Regions from separate parts of the Homo sapiens genome. Here region 1 is linked to region 2. Evidence: promoter capture Hi-C in human tissues and cell types (Jung and others, 2019). All regions are on one chromosome and are shown on one strand. Each heading gives the region's core, a stretch centred on a gene start or on the middle of the fragment in contact. The rest is flanking DNA. Distances are from core to core; before and after follow the strand shown.

Region 1 (2,884 bases), core at 347-2,846, 260 kb before region 2:
GAGCGCAGTGGCTCACGCCTGTAATCCCAGCACTTTGGGAGGCCGAGACGGGCAGATCACAAGGTCAGGAGATCGAGACCATCCTGGCTAAGACGGTGAAACCGCATCTCTACTAAAAATACAAAAAAAATTAGCCAGGCATGGTGGTGGGCACCTGCAGTCCCAGCTACTCGGGAGGCTGAGGCAGGAGAATGGCGTGAACCCGGGAGGTGGAGCTTGCAGTGAGTGGAGATCGCGCCACTGCACTCCAGCCTGGGCGACAGAGCGAAACTCCGTCCCAAAACAACAACAACAACAACAACAACAACAAACATATATTTCGTGGAGCAAGAAATGTCTCAAACATAGCAAGAGAGTTGGGATGCCAACGGACCAAAGGGAAAGCAAGCATGACATAGCCCCCCACTACAAGGGCTTACCTATTATCCAAGCTTTGGGAGCTAGGTTAGAATCCCAGCTCTGTCGCTAACCAACCTGTGTACTTTAGCCAAGTCACTGTACCTGTCTAGACTTCGGATCGCATGTGTGTCTGCCCATCTCATAGGGTTACCCTGAGGCTAAATGAGGTAACAAATGTCATGAACCCACAAGGTAGACTCGACTCTCGGTAACAGTTCGTGTCACCCCCATCTCACACTACTCTCCCTCTTCGGACCCTGCACCCATGGATTCCATCCACCGCTGGCCAGGAGCTGAGTAGAGGCACCGAGCACGTGAAGAGGTGAATGGGCAAGGAAGGCTTCCAGGTCAGGTAGCATTTCCAGTGTTCCAGCCTGCAGGCATCTACCGAGCCTGGCCCGAGGCTGGCACCCAGAGATGCTTCCAGTCTTCCAGCAGCAACGCACTGACTGTAAGAAAAGCCTGCTTATAAACCCCCTACAGGCATTTGGAAGCTGGTCCCTGGGGTCCTCTACAGATTCATTTCGCCCCCAAACCCATCCCCTTTGTGCCACCCTCGTTATTGCACTCTTCCATCCGGATGGCATTTAGCTGGGTCCGGGTCTGTCACCCGTCTGACCACCAGCTCCTTGAGGGCAAGAGGCGCCTGCTGCCCTCAGGGTCCGCGCCCAGCCCGCAGCTGCTCAGATCCGGAGACGGGAAGGTTTGTTGGCGAGAACCTGACTCCCGGGTCACAGTTAAGGATGCAAGAGCCCGGCGCCTTCCCGTAGCCCCGGCCCTGTCATTAATTAATGCTGGGGCTCCATTCGGTGCAGCGCAGTCCCAGGGATGCAACCGCAACTTTTGCGCACAATAGGCTCTCGATCTGTAATCCAGCCAACCCAGGCCTGTAGTGTGTAAATGCCAACTCAGCGGGAGGGCTCTGGCTGTCGCCCAGAGCCGTTTCTCGGCTCTTTCGCGGTTGCCGGCGCGCTCGGGACAGGAGGAACCCGCAGCCCGCGGGAGTCAGCGGAGACCCGACCAGCACTATCCAGCCCTCTGCACCGCCCCCGCGGCGAGGTCTGGACCAAGTCGCCCCTAGCAACAACAGCCGGGCCGGCTTTCTCAGGCCATGCTGATTGGCGGGACTCCGGGTGGCGGCCTGTCGTCACTTCCGGCAGCCGGAGGCAGCAGAGGAAGCCGAGGGGCGGCCATCTTGGCTCCGTGAGGCTCTGAGGTGCCGGGGTGCGGCGGCGGCAGCGGCGGCCAGCAGGGCGGAGGCTGAGGCAGCAAGCTCGCTAGAGAGGGAGAAGCAGTCGGGCGCAGGCGCCTCCTCCGCAGCCCGCTCCATGGTCGGCGCCCACAGCCCGCGGCGGCCTGTCTTGCGCTCCACTTCCTTCACATCCTCCTCCGCCTCCTCGTTTTCAGGCGCCGCCGGCGGCGCTGTGTGGAGGCCCGCGAGCTGAAATTCGCGGTGCGACGGGAGGGAGTGGAGAAGGAGGTGAGGGGGCCCAGGATCGCGGGGCGCCCTGAGGCAAGGGGACGCCGGCGGGCCGAAGCGCAGCCCGCCGCCCGCAGGCTCGGCTCCGCCACTGCCGCCCTCCCGGTCTCCTCGCCTCGGCCGCCGAGGCAGGGAGAGAATGAGCCCCGGGACCCGCCGGGGGACGGCCCGGGCCAGGCCCGGGATCTAGACGGCCGTAGGGGGAAGGGAGCCGCCCTCCCCACGGCGCCTTTTCGGAACTGCCGTGGACTCGAGGACGCTGGTCGCCGGCCTCCTAGGGCTGTGCTGTTTTGTTTTGACCCTCGCATTGTGCAGAATTAAAGTGCAGTAAAATGTCCACTAGGACCCCATTGCCAACGGTGAATGAACGAGACACTGAAAACGTAAGTAACCTGGGCGTTGTAGTTGGCGGACCTTCGGGGTGGCATTCGTGCTCCTCGGGCAGTGCCTTGCAGTCGGGTGTTCCCCCCAGCCGAACGCTCTGGAAATAGAGGGCAGGCCGTAGTCACCCAGGAGGCAGCCAGGTCGGACCGTTTCCTCCAGAAGTCTGCCGTGTCCCGCTGTTCGCGGGCGGGTCTGCGAAGTACATCGATTATGCCGGCAGTCTAGTCGGTTAATAAAGCCCAGGAGTTGCAGCGTTACGGATCGGTGCTTTGAGAGGCCAGGTTGCCGCGCAATGGATTGTGCAAACGTGTGTGTCAGATCACTGCAGTGGTCAGTGCTTATTTTAGCCGAACTCTGCTTTTAACTTGGTCAGGCAGTTCTTGAGAGACTGTCACATTAATAACATATGTTACCGGTGCTGATTAAGAGTAATCGATTGGGTCAAGTGGGCGGTCTCGTTCTTTAAGATGGTCTGGAACTAAATTTAATCACAGTCACTAAGTGTCCACTGAGGGATCTTTGCGGTCCCCTTAGGAATTCCAAAACACTAGCGCGCAGCCTTTATTAAGGCAGTTTCCTTTCCATACAAATCTTTTTTGAAGGAGTTGGTTAAACATTTTG
Region 2 (2,892 bases), core at 177-2,676:
TACAGGCATGCGCTACTATGCCTGGCTAATTTTTGTACTTTTAGTAGAGATGGGGTTTTGCCATGTTGGCCATGCTGGTCTCGAACTCCTGCCCTTAAGTGATCCACCTGCCTCGGCCTCCCAGTGTTGGGATCACAGGTGTGAGTCACTGTGCCCAGCCTGGTACATTATTATTAACTGAACTCCACTTTATTTGGTATCACTGGTTTTTCCCTTGTCCTTGTTGTACCTCAGGATCCCATCCAAGATACCATATCACATTTAGTCATCATGCCTCCTGCTCTGTGGCTGTTTTCTTAGACTTTCCTTGCATTAGAGGACTGTCTTAGCTTGCGAGGCTGTAACAAAGTACCACAGGCTAGTGACTCACGAACAACACAAGCCACAGTCCTGGAGGCTGGAAGTCTGGGATCAGGGTGCCAGCATGGTCAGATTCTGGTGCAGACCCTCTTTCTGGTTGCATGCTACCGACTTCTAGATGTATTCTCACATGGTGAAAAGAGTGTGAGAGAGTTCCCTTTTTAAAAAAAATTTAATAATAATTATTTTTTTGAGACAGAGTCTGTCTCTGTTGCCCAAGCTGGAGTGCAGTGGCACAATCTTGGCTCACTGCAGCCTCCGCCTCCTGGGTGCACTTCATCCTCCCACCTCCACCTCAGCCTCCCAGGCTCAATTCATCCTCCCAAGTAGCTGGGACTACAGGTGCACACTACAACACCCAGATAATTTTTGTATTTTTTGTAGAGATGGGGTTTTACCATGTTGCCCAGACTGGTCTTGAACACCTGAGCTCAAGCTATCTGCCTGCCTTGGCATCCCAAAGTGTTGGGATTATAGGTATCAGCCACTATACTCTGCCTAGGTTCCCTTTATTTTTTATTTTTTTGAGACAGAGTCTCACTCCATCGCCCAGGCTGGAGTGCAGTGGCATGATCTCAGCTCACTGCAACCTCTGCCTGCTGGGTTCAAGCTATTCTCCTGCCTCAGCCTCCTGAGTAGCTGGGATTACAGGCATGCACCACCATGCCCGGCTAATTTTGTATTTTTAGTAGAGACGGGGTTTCACCATATTGACTAGGCTGGTCTCGAACTCCTGATTTCAGGTGATTCACCCACCTCGGCCTCCCAGAGTGCTGGGATTACAGGCATGAGCCACTGCTCAGCCCCTGGGTTCCCTTTTTTAAAGGCACTAATCCCACCGTGAGGGGTCCCCTCATGGCCTAATCACCTCCCAAAGGCCCCACCTCCTAAAAGCATTACTCTAGGCATTAGAATTTTAACATGTGAATTGGGGTGGGGGGCACACATTGATTCCATTGCAATAACCTTGATAGTTTTGAGACATATGGGCAAGGTATTTTGTACAATGTCCTTAAATTTGGGTTTGTCTTGATATTTTTCCCATGGTTAAGTCAGGGTTATGAGTTTTTAGGAGAAAGACTACTGGCTCCCAGTTTTGGATTCTGATTCCATTGTACCAAAACAAATCAGAACTCTTTGGAGTAATGGGTGATTCTAGGGCTGGGGCAGGGAAAATATAAGATGAGCCTGAAGCTTCTTCTAGTGTTTGAATGTAAGGATATGCTAAAAAACAAAGGGATGGGAACATGAAGAAGGGACACAGGAACCAACTGAAAGAGCTCCCATTGACAAAAGCTGGAACAACTTGAACAATAAAATAAATAATGTAGTTTTTTGGTTTTTTGGTTTTTTTTTTTTTTTTGAGACGGAGTCTCACTCTGTTGCCCAGGCTGGAGTGCAGTGGCGTGATCTCGGCTCACTGCAACCTCCACCTCCCAGGTTCAAGGCAATTCTCCTGTCTCAGCCTCCTGAGTTGCTGGGACAACAGGCGCACACCACCACGCCCGGCTAATTTTTTTGTATTTTTAGTAGAGACGGGGTTTCACCATTTTGGTCAGGTTGGTCTCCAACTCCTGACCTCAGGTAATCCACCCACCATGGCCTCCCAAAGTGTTGGGATTACAGGCATGAGCCTCCATGCCCAGCCAAGAATGTATTTTTAACAATTAGTATTTTACTTATCACCTAAAGTATAAAACAAATATCTGTAAGTCCATATTGATATAAATAATTACATTAATAAATGAGGAAAGAGACAAAGAATAGACTGATCTCCCTTAGAGAAGAATTCCAAATAATGGTAGATTCTTCCATCTTCCAGAGGGTCCTCTATAACTTTCCCCATCTCCTTGGAGTGTGGGCTGCACTTAGTGACTTGCTTCCTAAGAGTATGGAATGGGATGACTGTGTGTGGAGGTGGTGGTGATAATCTTACAGTGGCTAAACCTGCAAATGCTACCTGAGCCAGGTGGTCGAGGCTGATGTATTAGGTGTAAATCATGTTGGCACGTGCCCTTGATAGAATTGTTATGAAAAGATTCAAACCCTGTAAAATATTTGAAAAGATTTATTCTGAGCCAAATATGAGTGACCATGGCCCGTGACACAGCCCTCAGGAAGTCCTGAGAACATGTGCCCAAGGTGGTCGGGGCACAGCTTGGTTTTATACATTTTAGAGAGGCATGAGACATCAATCAGATACATTTAAGAAATACATTGGTTGACCGGGCATGGTGGCTCACGCCTGTAATCCCAACACTTTGGAAGGCCAAGGCAGGCAGATCACTTGAGGTCAAGAGTTCCAGACCAGCCTGGCCAATATGGTGAAACTCCGTCTCTACTAAAAATACAAAAATTAGCCTGGCGTGGTGGTGCATGCCTGTAATCCCAGCTACTCGGGAGGCTGAGTCAGGAGAATCACTTGAGCGCAGAAGGTGGAGGTTGCCTGGCCCGAAGGCATTTGTTTAATTTCCTTTTGCTTCCAATGTGGCTGTTAAGAAACCTAAAGTTGGCTGGGCACGGTGGCTCACG

What was found. The method cuts DNA at HindIII sites, captures the fragments that hold promoters and counts their contacts. A contact is called where the count stands out against the background at its distance.
Region 1: a contact is called between the fragment with the promoter of MARK3 here and a fragment that was not itself captured in region 2, in 2 of the 25 tissues and cell types used here (hippocampus and pancreas).

The regions. Positions count from the first base shown.
Region 1 is chr14:103,383,819-103,386,702 of GRCh38, forward strand. MARK3 (microtubule affinity regulating kinase 3) reads left to right here and starts at 1,597. Exons shown (of 18, transcript NM_001128918.3): 1 at 1,597-2,262. The coding sequence starts at 2,212. RefSeq lists enhancers at 422-1,413, 1,414-2,403, 2,344-2,533 and a silencer at 1,874-2,063. The HindIII fragment of the contact is 8,681 bases long and covers 1-2,884 here.
Region 2 is chr14:103,641,063-103,643,954 of GRCh38, forward strand. All of the region lies in intron 1 of KLC1 (kinesin light chain 1), which reads left to right. Among named protein-coding and RNA genes, the nearest start is that of KLC1, 13 kb to the left of the region's middle. The HindIII fragment of the contact is 7,416 bases long and covers 1-2,892 here.